6 separate regions of the Homo sapiens genome follow, and all the other regions are linked to region 5. The links are contacts of gene promoters, found by promoter capture Hi-C in blood cells and fetal thymus (Javierre and others, 2016). All regions are on one chromosome and are shown on one strand. The core of a region is centred on a gene start or on the middle of the fragment in contact, and the rest is flanking DNA. Distances in the headings are between cores, read along the strand shown. Region 1 has its middle 29 kb from the start of PRB2. Region 2 has its middle 52 kb from the start of LINC01252. Region 3 has its middle 33 kb from the start of PRB4. Region 4 overlaps LOC440084 (a long non-coding RNA gene). Region 5 holds the start of TAS2R9 (taste 2 receptor member 9). Region 6 overlaps LOC440084 (a long non-coding RNA gene).

Region 1 (2,700 bases), core at 145-2,644, 610 kb before region 5:
ATGAAAAGAGATGATCCATGGGTGAGAAAAAAAAATTCAACCAACATTAGACAAAGAAAACAGAGACTATATGGGAAAGAAATAGTCAATGAAACACTAGATTTCCCAGAACTTAAGGTGTATTCTCCATATTGAAAGGGCCCAATGTTGATCCGCAGGCCCACACTTAACCATTTGCAGTGCCCAGTGCAGGAATACAAATGGAGCCCCACCTACTTTATAGCCCCTACTCTATAAGTTATAAAGTGTCTAGACCCTAGATTCATGTCAGGTTCCACATAAGTCCTGCAGTCTGTCTCTTGGAAACTGCCTTTCTCAACTAGCCAGGAGGCTAAAGGAACATGTGTTTCCCTGCATTAACCCTGACTGCAAGCTGGGAGGTGGGAGGATGGAGAGGGGTAGGGCTGTCTGCTGGAGCAGCAGGGTGGAAGCTGGGTGGGGGCCAAGCATTGACCTGGCCAAGCTTTTGTGGGAGCCTGCTAGGCAAGCGATGCTCTCTGCCCTGCCTCACTTCTGATTTGGGTTTCCCAGGAGGTTCTAAGCAGCTCCCCAAATGATATTACTGACCACAGGAGTAGTAGAGAGTGCATTTATGGAGGGAGAGTGGGTGAACCTGTCTGCCCAGATGTGCTCTTTGGTCTTTTTAAGCTGAAAAACATTAAGCAAAAGCATTCATTTTTTTCTCTGGTGTCCCAGAGCAGAAGCTGTGAATTTATTCTCATTGTACCTTCTCAATTCTGCATCCTCAGGACTTGAGGACCACAGTTCTGCCTGTGCCCCTCTCCCACAATTCCTGTTTTTTATTTATTTGCTGGACTTTTAAAATATTTTCCAAGGAGAGTGAAAGGAATTAAACCATGCGTTTGGTTTTGGGGTGTGTGGAGACCAATCTAAAATGTAGGGCCCAGCACAGCCCCTGCAACACCCGGAATAGAATACTGAGTGCCCAGCACAATAAATGGAAAGAGATCCATATCAACTTAAATCTAATTAAATTTTAGGGATAAAAGGATGATCCTCAAGATTCCAGTGGAGGAAAAAAACAGTTTTACACTAAGGATTGAGAATTAGAGTGAAAATGGAAGGGTAAAAGTTAGAAGATGGTGTCAGAAAGATTCTGAGCAAAAGTCATTTTCAACCTAGTGTCCTATATTTGGCCAGATTATCAGTCAAGTGTGAGGCCAGACTAAGCACATTCTTAGACATGAATGATCTTGAAATGTTTCCCCTCTCATGTGGCTCATTTGCAACAAGCTATGGAAGAATGGGTTTCACCAAAGAAGAAGGCTGAGAAAGAGGGAGGCATTAACTCAGGATATGCATCACCCTATTTGAGAGAAGAAAATAAAATTTCCAGGACAAAGGCAAATTATCTGAGAAGTGTCAGTGAGGAAAATTGTATGAAGAGGGATTTTACAAGTCCGTTGGAAGTGTCAGGAAGACTTAGATGTTTAAAGAAAACCAAATAAGTGAGAAAAAGGAGGTAATTATTAACTCCAGGAAAAACAAAAGGTTTTGTAAGGAAGGAAATATAAGCGTAATTAATAGGTACAGGGTAGTGATGATATTGGTGAACAAAAGGCAAATAATATTTCCTCATTCTAAAAATGAAATCACAACCAAAAAGTCATCAGTACTTGAAACTGACACCTCACTTCCTAGCAGGGCCTACTAGAAGGAAGCCAATGCATCCCTATCATTCACCCCACTGTGTCCACATTAGACACAATTTGGGCAGAGTGAAATTGTTATAGAGATCAAGTGGGGACTGAGAGATTGAGGGTGGGAAACTTTTCCTTCTCATCCCCTCTAGGTGCTTGCTTCACTGTGAAGTCAAATGAAGGAGACGCCTAGAGATTCACTTGGAAAGGATGGCCTCTCCATAAAGCTATTGGACATGGCTGCTGGTCTTTCCCAAAGTAAAAGATGTGAGAAAGGGAAAGAGAGAAAGAGAGAGATCAAGACAGTGAGACAAAGAGACAGACAGAGTGAAGTTGCCAAAAAAAAAAAAAAAATGAAGCCACAGTTTCTTTTATAACATGATCTCAGGGGTATTAATATATACTAACACTTTCCTCATATTCTATGGGTCACACAGACCAATCCTGATATATTAAGGTGGGAACCACACAAGCATGTGAATATCAGGAGGAAGGAATCTTGGGTATCAGCTGTCTCCTAATGACAACAATTTTGATACAAAAATAAGCAAGTTAAGGGGATTGAGGATTTTTGTGTATTCAAAGAAGGCTTCAAAATGGTGACATTTGAACAGATTTGAATAAAGGGACAAAACATGCTTGATAAAGATATAAGCAAGCTTGGTATATTGGCATAGTGTTAAGAGGCCAGTGTGGCTAAATTAGTGAAGTAAATTAGTTATAGAGAAGTCAATAAGTTCAAAGATAGGAGATAGGCAGGGGACCAATTATGCAGAACCTTGGCTTTAGAAACAGATTTGGATTTCATTATTATGAAAATGATGGAAGTGGTGAGTACAAAAGCCCCTATAGAGTGTGTGGAAGAGAAAATGGGAGGTGAGAACATGGCGAACAATAACTATAACATTCTTTTCAAAGATTTTTGCAATAAAGATGTCAGACAAATTGTGTGGTAAATGGAGAGGCATTAAATATGTAGAGAGAGCTTTGTAAAAATGGGAGATATTACAGCACATTTGTCATAAAGAAGAACAAATTG
Region 2 (2,700 bases), core at 46-2,545, 690 kb before region 5:
GAAACCCTGTCTCTACTAAAAATACAAAAAATTAGCTGGGCGTGGTAGCATGCACATGTATTCCCAGCTACTCGGGAGGCTGAGGCAGAATTGCTTGAAAGCTGGGAGGTGGAGGTTGCAGAGAGCCGAGATTGCACCACTGCACTCCAGCCTGGGTGACAGAGCAACGCTCCATCTTAAAAAAAAAAAGAAAAAAAAATTAAATAGAGAAGTCAGTCATGATGACGTGGGAGGATCACCAGAGGCCAGGAGTTCATGACCAGCCTGGGCAAAATAATGAGACCCCTGTCTCTTAAAAGGTTTTATTAAAAAAAATTAAATAGAGAAGCTAGACATGAAAGGACAGATATTGTGTGAGTCCACTTATGTGAGGTGCCTAGAACAGTCCAGTTCATAGCAGCAGAAGCAGTGGCCGCCAGGGATGGGGAAACAAGGTGGGAGTTGGGCAGCTTGTGTTTCATGGGTAGAGTTTCAGGTTGGGATGATGGCAAAGTCCTGGAAATGGCTGGTGGTGACGGCTGCACAGCAGTGTAAATGTGCGAATGCCACTGAGCTGTATGCTTAAAAATGGTTTTGATGGTAAATTTTAGGTTAGGTCTATTTTACCACAATAAAAAGCTAGGAAAAGCTGGTAGAAAGAAAGAAAAGAAAGGAAAAGAAGACAAAGAAGAAAAGAAAGAAAGAGAGAGGGAAAGAAAGAAAGAGAGAGGGAAAGAAAGAAGGAAAAGAAAGAAAGAAAGAAAAAGAAAAGAGAGAAAGGATGAAAAAATATTAATTTCTTTCTCAGGCAATAGTCCAGATTTTGTATTATGAAGCTTGTGTATCAGCTCTGCCCTATGAAGTCCTTGGGATACCAGGCTCCTTCCTCCTTTCTGCCCCACCATTCCTTGGATGTAGCCCTTGACCTTTTAATCGAGGTTGGAGGATGAGGAGAGAAAAGGAAGCAATGGCCTAGAAACTGCCATTGAGCACATGCCTACATCCCATTGGCCAGATGTCAGTCACATGACCACACCCACCTGCAAGAGATGCTGGGAATTGAAGTCTCATTTGTGGGTAGTCATGTATTTAGGCAAAATTTGAGGACTCCATCACCTTGGAAGAAGGAGAGAATAGATAGTGGGGACAACTTAGCCATCTCTGCTGTCATCCCCATTTGATCTCTCAATGGTCAGAAACCACAGAGGAGAAGGAGTGACTCCCAGAACATCCAACATTCAGCCTCCCCTTATTACTCTTCATTCTTTTTCATCCTTAAAGAATCCTTCTGGCCACTCCCACTAGGCATTGTCATCTCCCAAGAATTACAAACTATCCATGGATTCCTTCATCTTACAAACCTACCTGCTTCGTGGTAGGCACTGTATTAGGTAAGGGGACTAGAAAGATAGAGGAGGTGCAGTCTTTTCCCTAAGGAGTCTTCAGTCTAGCAGGCAGGAGTAGAAATGTGGACCAACTGTCCTGAAGTGTGACAGTTGTATAGATAGACATTTGAACAACATATGGTGGGGTATTAAAAAAAAACAGTTAACACTAAACTCAAAAACAGATAAGGGAGGGATAAGAAAATGCATCATAAAGGAAGTCTGCCGTAAACTAAGTGTTTAAAGTTTGGTTCATTGGATGGAGGGGACAGGACAGAGTCTCTGTCTTTCTCCCTCCTTTTTTGCTCCTTCCCCCATGCCTAATATGCTTTGTATAAAACCACCTGTATGCAAAACAGATCAATCCAGCTACTATCCTATTAAAAATATAGTGCATTGGCTATAAGCTTAAGTTACTAACTTGCATATTCATTTACATGGCAATTCCTGTAACCTTGCCTCTTAAGAAAACTAGACGAAATAAAATTAATTACCAAAGGCAGCCAGCAGCAAAAATATCCAAACCTTAATTCTAGGTACAAGCTACAGAACATGGCACAAAGTGGACTGTGGTGGGGGTCTGTAGATAAGGTGAAGCAATAGTTTTACATCAAAAAATTATTGGGTTCTATACAAGTGCAATCATAAATGAGGCATTGGAATTTGGCTTCACATTGACTAAACTGTTGAGCCATGGTTCACTCATTAACATTCTGTGTTAATGATATTCTAGTTATCATTAAAAAAGTAAAGGTGAAACTGAGAAACTATAAGCAATAAAACTTGGTGTTTAGGAGAAAATAATTTATCATCCATAATATATAATTTTGAAAGATTAAAAACACATTCATCTCAATACAAAAATTCAATAATGCTTGAATTACTTCCAACGTGTTCATCCAAGGTGAACCTTCACATTTTTACAAACTCTTTTTCTTTATGAATTTTTGTTGACTAAGAACAAATTTTTTTCATTTTCTGAACTTCAAAATTATGCATTTTTCTATATGCTATACACATGAAACTTATGCTTCCTATGTATTAATTTTACAATTTTAAATTCCTTGGAAGATATCTTGTTTTTAAGTATTAAATTCAACTTTATTAGCATGTGTTCATTATCTAATAAAACAAAATGAACCATAGAAAGCAGGGATCCCCAGACTTTTTAAATAAAGAGTCAGGGAGCAGACATTTTAGACTTTGCTGACCACATACAGTCTATGTCACATATTTATCTTTGTTTTTTTTCTTTTAACAACCTTAAAAATGTAAAGACAATTCTTAGCTATGGGCCAAACAGGTCTTAATTTGACCCGTGGGCCTTACTTTGCAA
Region 3 (2,700 bases), core at 173-2,672, 530 kb before region 5:
GTCTGCTCCTGTCTGTAGCTTATATTTTTGCTATAGTTTTGGCATCCATTGAGTGAAAAATTTACTCAACATTAATTACTCAATTCGAATCAGGTAAGGGGAACCAATTGAGAATTTTGTAGTGTTGGCTCTTGTTTGTACCGAGAATTATTGGTACAAAAATTCATCTTGTACCAATTTTATCCATGCAATTTGATATGAATCCTCTGTGTCTATGGGCTTTAGGTTCAACCTTGTCTTATCCCTTCTTGAAATGAGTTACCTACTTGTGAACTGCCAATTTTTAGGGCCATTATCCCTACCAGTGTTTCAGAAAGCATCATTGATTTCACCTTCTTGTACCCAAGCTTCACCATGAAGTTCACGTTTATACTCTTTTTAATTTTAGAAGAATTCATGATGCTCTCATAGGGGAACTTTTGAACTTGCTCTTATTTTTCTTGATGACTCAAGTAGCTCCTGTTCAGACATGTTAGAGCATGTCAATATGAGTTTATTTTGGTGCAAAAATTGGAATCTATTCTTTTTTAAATATAACATACTTTTTCCATGAACATTTTACAGTCCCAATGCATTACAGAAAGGCTTTCTAATACAATAAAATTTGCTACACATAAATTTGATTTTTCCAGGTGACTCGGTACATTGATTTTTTGTTTTTTTCCTGGCATATACAGGGTGAGGAATTCTTTTTGTTTGGATTTCTTGTGAGATATGAATAAAAATGTTGGTCACTTTAAATGGTATCCACAGTTTAGCCAATGTCTCCTGAGAAAAGTGTGTGTAAGCATGCATAAAAAGCACTTCATGATCCTGATTGCCAGTGATTTTTTCATTTATAAAAAAGAAGAAAGTGGCTGGGGGTGGTGGCTCATGCCTGTAATCCCAGCACTTTGGGAGGCTAAGGCGGGTGTATCACGAGGTCAGGAGTTCAAGATCAGCTAGGCCAAGATGGTGAAACCTGTCTCTGCTAAAACTAAAAAAATGAGCCAGGCCTAGTGACAGGTGCCTGTAATCCAAGCTACTTAGGAGGCTGAGGCAAGAGAATCGCTTGAAACCAGGTGGCAGAAGTTGCAGTGAACAGAGACTGTGCCACTGCACTGCAGCCTGGGTGACAGAGGGAGACTTCAGAAAAAAAAAAAAAAAAAAGAAGAAGAAGAAATTAATCATGTGCATGACTAAATACACAAAGATGAAGAAAAGGGGAATGTAGAAGCCTGTGTAATGTGCTTATGATTTAGAAACAACTTTAAGAAAATAGTTTTGTTTGTTTTTTTTTTTCACTTCACCTGGTCATGTCTTAAGAAAAGCTTTACTTCAAGCAGGTCCTAAAACCAGTACCTGAGTTTCTTGTCTGGATCTAATTTCTTCTCACTTTCTTGAAAATAAACAAATATGTTCATAAATGCAAAGAGCAGTGGAGCAAAGGAGGCAAGAACTGAGGCTCTGGAGACTACCGCCATCTACACCACTTACTAACTTTATAACTATCTTGGCATGTGCTTCCATCATCTCATCTATAAAATGAAGCTTGTAATAAAAATTATTACTACCTGAAAAGATGGTTCTGAAGATTATATGGCACATAGTCAATGCTTGGTAAATATTTCCTATTATAGTCTATCATGTTACAATAGGCTTGTAGAATATGAATGTGCTAATATAATTGTGAAAGTTATGTTTATGAAGACTCTACTGTAAGTCAGCATATGAGAACCACTATCATAATAGGGTAGCCAGAATTTTTAGAAAAACCTAAGCAAAGTACACTTCTCAGAGACAATTGTGTTGAATTGTTAACTGTATCATCATAATGCTTAGTTGATTAAATGGGCACACAGAGGAACTCCCCTCAGACCACAGGGACTAAATGCAATTCACTCACTATCAGCACAACTCTGTCCATGTTCAACTTCTGGGCAAACCACTCTTTAGTTGTTCTAGACAAACCAGCGCATTGTAAAGTTGAAGAAAATTCTTCTTTCAGTTCCATGCATAGAGCTTCCCAGTCTTTGAGAATGACACGTGAGTACGAAGAAACTTAGGTGTGAACTTTACAAGATCTTACTAAAAGGAAAATCAGGAAAACTTAGAGGATATGAAGGAAGAAGGTAATATTTAATATTTATTATTAAAAGATCACACTGGCTATTGTGAGGAGAAGTGATATGGAATGTGGTGGGAGCAGGAAGGTTACAAGGGCAGCTAGGGGCTGTTCTAGTCCTCCAGGAGAGAGGGTCATGCCCCCACTAGAGCCTTATATTAGAGATTATGGAAAGGGTCATCTTGGGATGTGTTTTATAGTGGAGCCCACTGTATTTGCTTATATGCAGTGCTTGGTGTGGAGTGAAAAGTAAAAAGTGACTCCTATGTTCTTGAGAACTCTGTAAAAAATGTTATTGTTTTAGTAAAGATTAGGAGGTATCATGGGCTGCATTGTTTTTACCCAAATTTGTATGTTGAAATCCTATCCCTGTACCTCAGAATATGATTGTGTTTGGAAAGAATTTCTTTTTATAGAGGTACCTAAATGAAAATTAGGCTATTAAGATGGTCCCAATCTAATCAGACTCCTGTTGTTATAAGAAAGGAACTTTTGGTCACATGGAGGGACACCAGGGGTGCATGTGTACAGAGAAACCCATGTGTGAAGACAAAACAAAAAAATAGCCAAGTCAAAGGGAAGAAGAGACATCTTAG
Region 4 (2,700 bases), core at 113-2,612, 660 kb before region 5:
CTGAAACCCAGCAGGACAGACATTAAATCTTAAAGGTACAGAATGCTCTCACTTGACTCCATGTCTCACATCCTGGGCACAATGGTAGAAGGGGTGGGCTCCCAAGGCCTTGGGCATCACTGTCCCCATGGCTTTGTTGAGCATAGCCCCTGTGGCTGCTCCCAGGGGTTGGGATGTGGTGCCCATGGTTTTTCTAGACTGAAGGTGCATGCTGTTGGTGGTGCTACCATTCTGGGATATGAATGGCAGTGGCCCTGCTCCCAGGGCTCCACCAATCAGTGCCCCAGTAAGGATGCTTTGCTGGGGCTCCAACCCCACATTTCCCCCTAGGCACTTCCCTAATAAAGGCTTTTTGCAGATAGGCTTCTGCCTGGGCACTCAGGCTTTCCAATACATCCTTTGAAATCTAGGTGGAAGCTGCCAAGCCTCCATGGCTTTTGCCTCTGTGTGCCTGCAGACTTACCACCATGTTGAAGCTGCCAAGGCTTATGGCTTGTGCCCTCTGGAGCAGCAGCCCAAGCAGTCCCTGGGACTCTTTGAGCTGGGGATGGAGGCAGAGCAGCAGGAAAGCAGCATCCAACAGGGCAGTGGCACCCTAGGCAGTTCCCCTGAAGCCATTCTGTCTTAGGACATTGGGCCTGTGATGGAGGGGTGGCCTTGAAGATTTCTGAAATGTCAGGGTCTTTTTCTCATTGTCTTGACCATCAGCATCTGGCTCCCTTTTATTATTGCCAATCTCTCTAGCAAGTGGTGACTCCAAGCCTCCTTGGATTCCTCTCTTTGAAAATGGTCTTTCCTTCTCTACCACACCTCTGCCACACCTTGTCTACCACACAGTGGGCTGTGAATTTGCCAAATTTTTATGTTCTGATTTCCTATTCATTATCAGTTCCAACTTTAGGTAATTTTTTTGCTCCCAAAACCGACCCTAGGTTGTTAGAAGCAGACATGACTCTTCTCGAATGTTTTGCTGCTTAGAAATTTCTTCTGCCAGATACCCTAAGTCATCAATCTAAAATTCAGCCTACCGCAAAGTCCTAGGACATGGACACAGTGCAGCCAATTTCTTTGCTAGGGCATAACAAGGGTGACATTTACTTTAGTTCCCTATAAGTTTCTCATTTTCATCTGAGACTTCATCAATATAGCCTTCATTGTCCCTAGTTCTATCAGCATTTTGATCACAACCATTTAACCAGTCTCTGAGAAGTTCCAAGCTTTCTCTCTTCTTCCTGTCTTCTTCAGAGTCCTCCAAACTCTTCCAACTTCTGCCCATTACCCTGTTTTCAAAACTGCTTCCACATTTTCAAGTTTCTTTATAGTAACACCCCATTTCTTGGTACCAATTTTCTGTTGTAGTTCATTTTGCACTGCTATAAATAAATATGTGAGGCTGGGTGATTTTTAAAAGAAAAAGGTTAATTTGGCTCACAATTCGACAGCCTGTACCAGAGGCATGGCACCAGCATCTACTTTCTACTTCTTGTAAGGGCCTCAGGAAGCTTACAATCATGGCAGAAGGTAAAAGGGCTGCAGGCATCATATGGCAAGACAGAGAGCAAGCAAGAGAAAGGAGGGAGATGCCAGGCTCATTTTAAAAATCAGATCTTGTGAAAACAAATAGAGAACTCACTCATTACCCTGGAGACTACTGTATTAGTCTGTTCTCATGCTGCTGATAAAGACATATCCATGACTGGGCAATTTACAAAATAAAGAGGTTTAATGGACACACAGTTCCACGTGGCTTGGGAGGGCTCACAATCATGGTGGAAGGTGAAAGGCACATCTCACATGGCTGCAGACAAGAGAAGAGAACCTGTGCAGGGAAATTCTCCTTTATAAAACGATCAGATTTCGTGAGACTTATTCACCATGATGAGAATAGCATGGGAAAGACCCGCCCACATGGTTCAGTTATCTCCTACCGGGCCCCTCCCACAACATGTGGGAATTATAGGAGCTACAATTCAAGATGAGATTTGGGTGGGGACACAGTCAAACCGTATCAACTACGCCAAGCCATTCATGAGAGATCCACCTACATGACCAAACACTTCCAACAATGGGGATCAAATTTCAACATGAGATCTGGAGAGGACAAATGTCCAAATTATACCAATGGAGGAAAGGACAATTCCTTCAACAAATGGTGTTGGGAAAAGTGGATACTCAAATGCAAAATTATGAAGTTAGACACTTACCTTACACCATATACAAAAACCAACAAAATGGATTAAATATCTAAACACAAGACCTAAAGCTATTACACTCCTAGAAAAAAGGAGAGGAAAAAATGTTTATGACAATGGATTTGGTAATGATTTACTGGATATGACTCCAAAAGCACAGGCAACAAAAGCAAAAGTAGGCAAATAGTATGACAGGAAAGTTTAAGGTTAACTTCTGCTTGTTAACATAATTAACAGAATGAAAAGGCAATCTATGGATGGGAGAAAATATTTGAAAATGACATATTTGATAATGCATTTTAAATATATATAAATATGTATTTAACATGTATATATACACATATACAAAAATTATAATTAAAAATGTATTTATGGAACTTCTACAACTCAACAACAAAATGACCTGATTCAAAAGTGGGCAAATAACTTGAATAGAGAATTCTCCAAAGAAGATATACAAATGGTCAACCAGCATATGGAAAGGTGCTTAATATTACTAATCATAAGA
Region 5 (2,746 bases), core at 85-2,584:
AACCCCAAATTTCACTGAATAGAATAACAATAGCTATTTACTTTCTCATAAAAATCTGCAAGATTAATTTTTATCTCTTTATTTTGTCTAAAACCCTGAACATATGACACATTATCTCATTAAATACTTTGTATTGTTGTGTTTGTTTGATAAGCAATATTTAATATTGCCTTAAAATTTAATATTAGTTTCAAAATAATATTTCTGGGAACTGTGTATTGCTGTGTGCCTTTTTCTATTATTTCAAATATGTTCTACTATGCCCAATGACATGTTTCAATATGTCCCAATGAAACAGTGTGTTTCCAATGTGTGTATAATTAGCATACTAATATTTATAATACACCTGCTGCCAAAAAATAGAGCTAAGAAAATTCAGAGCATGTATTCTTATCACTCAGTTCAGACTGAAGAGTCTTGTATATCTATCACGCTTTTTAGTTCCAAAAATATCACTTTCTTGCTCTTTGTCCTCCTCACTGTTCAGGCTGATCTGTTTCCATTCTAAAGATAAGTGACCAGTATTTTGACTATTTTTTCTATGTATGGAAGCTACATTCAGGTACAAAGCAAGAACACTCTAAGAAACCCTAACATCTAAACCAGAATTTTCCGTGTCTCATTTGCTGACAACACTACAATGTCATGTTTATTTCCCTCATTGTATCTTCAGTTGAGAAGACAAACACTGCAGAGCTTTTTGAGGATATTGGGAATTACCTAATTAATGTATTTCTCAATGCCCTAGTGAATGGAGTGTCCTTTTGGCCCTCTTAAGTCATATAATGGGGAGAAGGTGAAGTTCGCATATGATAAATTCACCTTAATACTCCTATCTTCCTACACCTTTAGATTCTTTCCTCTACATTCCACCAGTTATGCCATTTAAGCCTCATTTAATGTTAATAATAATTTGTTTAAAGCTTTAGTCAACCAAGCAAGCAAACTGGCCACACAAGCTAACACAGTAAACCTAGAATCTGTAATAGCAATAACTATGTCAATATACTAACAAGGATGGATAGTCATCCAGCAAATTAAATTCTAGCCATATTTTCCAAGTAATTGATACCTTCTTGAAGTTCCTGGTCAACAGCTCAGATTGATAAATCCAAAATATACAGAGCTTAAAATAAGAAAGAGTGTGCAAATTTAAGAAATCAGATCCATTCCCATTTGCATCCTAGAGGCTTTCAGTCATCACTGCACCAAAGGAAATTACTGGCCCCAATCATTGAAGTCTTTAGGCAGCTCTAGCCCAGAGCAGGACTGGCTATCTTCTTCATCTGCATCACAGCTAACAAAAAGGAGAGATAAAGACAACTATATCATGGTCTAAGAGGCAGACAGATACATTGTTCTTCACTGGTCAGCTGAAAGTCAATTCATCATCAGTGATATTCAAAAATCACAAGTCTTTGCTGGCATGCCAAGTGCAATAGAGGCAATATATATTATTTTAATTGCTGGTGAATTGACCATAGGGATTTGGGGAAATGGATTCATTGTACTAGTTAACTGCATTGACTGGCTCAAAAGAAGAGATATTTCCTTGATTGACATCATCCTGATCAGCTTGGCCATCTCCAGAATCTGTCTGCTGTGTGTAATATCATTAGATGGCTTCTTTATGCTGCTCTTTCCAGGTACATATGGCAATAGCGTGCTAGTAAGCATTGTGAATGTTGTCTGGACATTTGCCAATAATTCAAGTCTCTGGTTTACTTCTTGCCTCAGTATCTTCTATTTACTCAAGATAGCCAATATATCGCACCCATTTTTCTTCTGGCTGAAGCTAAAGATCAACAAGGTCATGCTTGCGATTCTTCTGGGGTCCTTTCTTATCTCTTTAATTATTAGTGTTCCAAAGAATGATGATATGTGGTATCACCTTTTCAAAGTCAGTCATGAAGAAAACATTACTTGGAAATTCAAAGTGAGTAAAATTCCAGGTACTTTCAAACAGTTAACCCTGAACCTGGGGGTGATGGTTCCCTTTATCCTTTGCCTGATCTCATTTTTCTTGTTACTTTTCTCCCTAGTTAGACACACCAAGCAGATTCGACTGCATGCTACAGGGTTCAGAGACCCCAGTACAGAGGCCCACATGAGGGCCATAAAGGCAGTGATCATCTTTCTGCTCCTCCTCATCGTGTACTACCCAGTCTTTCTTGTTATGACCTCTAGCGCTCTGATTCCTCAGGGAAAATTAGTGTTGATGATTGGTGACATAGTAACTGTCATTTTCCCATCAAGCCATTCATTCATTCTAATTATGGGAAATAGCAAGTTGAGGGAAGCTTTTCTGAAGATGTTAAGATTTGTGAAGTGTTTCCTTAGAAGAAGAAAGCCTTTTGTTCCATAGAGACCCCTAAAGAGTATCCTGACTACAAGGATGAAAGAAATCAACAAAAGGCATTCTCCCTTCTCTTGTTTGCATTCATTTTCTCTTATATGCTATTGGAAGTCATTAATATCTGTCATGATTCTGAAGATTTGTTTTGTGTTCCTTCACACTTTTGTCTTGTTTAATGGATAATCTAATGTTATCATTGCACCGTATATTCTTTGTCGTTGCAGAAAAAAAAAATGCATCTAAATCCCACACTAACATTTCATCATTTTATGTCATTGACTAAATACAAAGAGGTTCTACTTCTTTTCTGACAAATACTGGCAAAGGCCTTGAACTCAATGAGTAGAAGAATGTCAGGCAAACAGGCTTTGGGGAAAAGATTTTAGAACT
Region 6 (2,700 bases), core at 8-2,507, 630 kb before region 5:
GGTTGGATAACATAATGTCATGAAGTTGTATGGCTTTGGCCCCTGCCCTTAAAACTTTTAGTATATTTGAGGCAGAGACATAAGAAAGGGATTAATTCCAAACTAGCAGAGTCATTATTCTTAACACCAGAAGATGGGTAGAGATAAGCCTGAATAGAGAAAAAAAATGGGGCTCTACTCCAAGCCATGCTGCCTGTATTTATTCCTGCCTCTACCTCTTACTTGCTCTGTAACTGGGCAAGTGACCTAATTTCCTTGCGCCTCAGTTTCTTCATTAGTAAATTGATGCTGTTATAATACTTTATATGCTGTTTAGGATTATTGTGAGGGTTAAAATGAGTACATATTTGTAAAGTACTCAGAATTTGTAAAATATTTACAATAGTGCCTGGGACATAGTAATTGCCATTTAGTCATTATTACTTGTTATAACTGCTAAAAATGTTTTTATTGTAGTAAAAAATCCATACCCTTAAATTTACCACTTAACTTCTTTTAAGTGTATAGTTCAGTTGTGTTAAGTATATTCACATTGTTGTGCAACAAATAGAGATCTCTAGAAATTTTTCATCTTGCAAAACTAAAAGTCTACACCCATTGAACAATAATGTCTCCTTCCCCCAGCCCTTGACACCCACCTTTCTACTTTCCATTTTTGTGAGTTTGACTACTTTAGATACCTCACATAAGTGGACTCATGCAGTCTTGGTCTTTTTGTGACTGGCTTCTTCCATCTAGCATAATGTTCTCAAAGTTTATCCATGTAACCATGTTTGTTCATCTGTATGACCTTGTTCATAGCATAGGAAAGGATTCATTCCTTTTTAAAGGCTGAATAATATTCCGTCATATGTGTGTACCACATTTTTAACTTCATTCATCCATAGATGAACATCCGAGTTGCTCTACCTCTTGGCTATTGTGAATAATGCTGCAATAAACAAAGATATGTAAGGATCTTTTCAACATCCTGATTTCTTCTTGGTGCAGTGGCTCATACCTGTAATCCCAGCACTTTGGGAGTCCAAGGCAGGTGGATCACTTGAGACCAGGAGTTTGAGAGCAGCCTGGCCAACATAGTGAAACCCCACCTCAACTAAAAATACAAAAACTAGCCAGGCATTGCGGCAAACACTTGTAATCCCAACTACTCAGGAGGCTGAGGTGTGAGAATCGCTTGAACCAGGGAGGCAGAGGCTGCAGTGAGCCTAGATCGCACCACTGCACTCCAGCCTGGATGACAGAGTGAGACCCTGTTTCAAAAAAACAATCCTGATTTTGAATATTTGTCCAGAAGAGGGATTGATGGATTATTTGGTAACTCTATGTTTAATTTTTCAAGAAACCTCTATATTGTTTTCCATAAAGGCTGCTCCAGTTTACATTCCCAAAGCTGTGTACAGGGACTCTAATTTCTCCACATCCTTGCTAACACTTGTTATTTTCTGTTGTTTTGATAGTGGCCATCCCAATAGGTGTGAGGTGATATCTCATTGTTATAATTTTTGCATTTCTTATCTATCAGCTGATCAAAATCCTGCTCCCCCTGCTGTCCCTCCACCATGGTTTAAAAGAGTCTAACCTAGAGCTTAAAATATCTAAGAGACAAAGACGGGAATCAGTCTCAGAATTGCCCATGAGGATGTGTGCTAAGTCCAAGAGAACACATTGGTCCTAAAACTTCAATTAAATCCACTGAAATCTCTTCATGGTGTACCACAGTGTGTTTTCTTCCTTGTTCATTGACTACCAGGCAAGGCTTTCGGCCAAATCTGAAGAGTTATAATTCTTTTTGTCCTCCCCTCCTTCCTCTTTTCTTTTTATTTTTAGGATAGTGGTTTAAACTCTGAGAATTCATTTCCTAAAAGAGCTAAAATCCTAGAAAGCCAACTTTTTTGAGCATATGTCATGGTGAGGGCACTTTGCCCCACATCTAATCAGTCACCAAGTCCCTTTAATTTCACCTTCATAATGTCTTTAATATCTGTATACTTTTCAGGCCTAGGGCTACCATGCTGCTGAACCCATGGTGGCTCTTGCCTGTGCAGTGCCATTACTGACCTGCTCTCTGTTTGTGCAGGTTTGGCTAGTCTTCCTAAAGCATGGCTTTTACCATGCCAACCATTGACTTCACATTCTCAATGACTCTGTTTTGCCAGCAGAATAATGACTCAACTCTTCAGCTTTTGAAGATCTCCTTGGTATGCTCCCCAGTGTCATTTCAGACGGCCACAACCTCCTCTTCCACTGCCCTCTTTTTGTCACCCTCTCATTGTAGTCTCCAGTCACATACTTTTCTTTAATGAGGGTAATTACTCGGATAGTTTTACTTTATTCTTTAAGGTCCATCTCAAGTTATAATAATGAAGGTGCCAATCATTGATCATTTATTATATGTCATTTACCAATTTACATGGATCAGTTCATTTAATTCTCACAATGACCCTATGAAGGGATTAGTATCATCACCTGCGTTTTGCAAATCAGGAAAACTGGACAGAGTGATTTGGGCAAGTTCAAGGTCTCCCAAGGACCTGGGTTCATGGCCAGACAATCTGAGTCTAGAACCCAAGCTTTTAGCCACTGCTGAAAGGTTGCATTTGACAGTGTCTTCTCACCTAGAATTCAGTACAGATGAATAATCATTTATTTGGCACCAGGGCTCTATAATAGACTTTGTAGAAATAAGGCAACCAAATT

The links. Contacts are between HindIII fragments. The CHiCAGO score rates a contact against its expected background, and 5 or more counts as called.
Region 1: a contact is called between a fragment that was not itself captured here and the fragment with the promoter of TAS2R9 in region 5, in 5 of 17 cell types (activated CD4 T cells, erythroblasts, M0 macrophages and 2 more). The highest score is 6.5, in activated CD4 T cells.
Region 2: a fragment that was not itself captured here is called in contact with the fragment with the promoter of TAS2R9 in region 5 in 13 of 17 cell types (endothelial precursors, M1 macrophages, M0 macrophages and 10 more); the score reaches 13.6 in endothelial precursors.
Region 3: a contact is called between a fragment that was not itself captured here and the fragment with the promoter of TAS2R9 in region 5, in 4 of 17 cell types (activated CD4 T cells, total B cells, M0 macrophages and 1 more). The highest score is 6.0, in activated CD4 T cells.
Region 4: a fragment that was not itself captured here is called in contact with the fragment with the promoter of TAS2R9 in region 5 in 14 of 17 cell types (M1 macrophages, naive CD8 T cells, total CD8 T cells and 11 more); the score reaches 12.8 in M1 macrophages.
Region 6: a contact is called between a fragment that was not itself captured here and the fragment with the promoter of TAS2R9 in region 5, in 14 of 17 cell types (M1 macrophages, non-activated CD4 T cells, total CD4 T cells and 11 more). The highest score is 11.3, in M1 macrophages.

The regions. Positions count from the first base shown.
Region 1 is chr12:11,422,907-11,425,606 of GRCh38, reverse strand. No RefSeq gene overlaps it. Among named protein-coding and RNA genes, the nearest start is that of PRB2, 29 kb to the right of the region's middle. The HindIII fragment of the contact is 1,857 bases long and covers 466-2,322 here.
Region 2 is chr12:11,494,655-11,497,354 of GRCh38, reverse strand. No RefSeq gene overlaps it. Among named protein-coding and RNA genes, the nearest start is that of LINC01252, 52 kb to the left of the region's middle. The HindIII fragment of the contact is 956 bases long and covers 818-1,773 here.
Region 3 is chr12:11,341,828-11,344,527 of GRCh38, reverse strand. No RefSeq gene overlaps it. Among named protein-coding and RNA genes, the nearest start is that of PRB4, 33 kb to the right of the region's middle. The HindIII fragment of the contact is 220 bases long and covers 1,313-1,532 here.
Region 4 is chr12:11,472,587-11,475,286 of GRCh38, reverse strand. All of the region lies in intron 2 of LOC440084 (a long non-coding RNA gene), which reads left to right. Among named protein-coding and RNA genes, the nearest start is that of LINC01252, 74 kb to the left of the region's middle. The HindIII fragment of the contact is 285 bases long and covers 1,220-1,504 here.
Region 5 is chr12:10,808,756-10,811,501 of GRCh38, reverse strand. TAS2R9 (taste 2 receptor member 9) reads left to right here and starts at 1,334. Exons shown (of 1, transcript NM_023917.2): 1 at 1,334-2,408. The coding sequence starts at 1,427. The coding sequence ends at 2,365. The HindIII fragment of the contact is 1,377 bases long and covers 926-2,302 here.
Region 6 is chr12:11,439,424-11,442,123 of GRCh38, reverse strand. All of the region lies in intron 2 of LOC440084 (a long non-coding RNA gene), which reads left to right. Among named protein-coding and RNA genes, the nearest start is that of PRB2, 45 kb to the right of the region's middle. The HindIII fragment of the contact is 2,636 bases long and covers 1-2,575 here.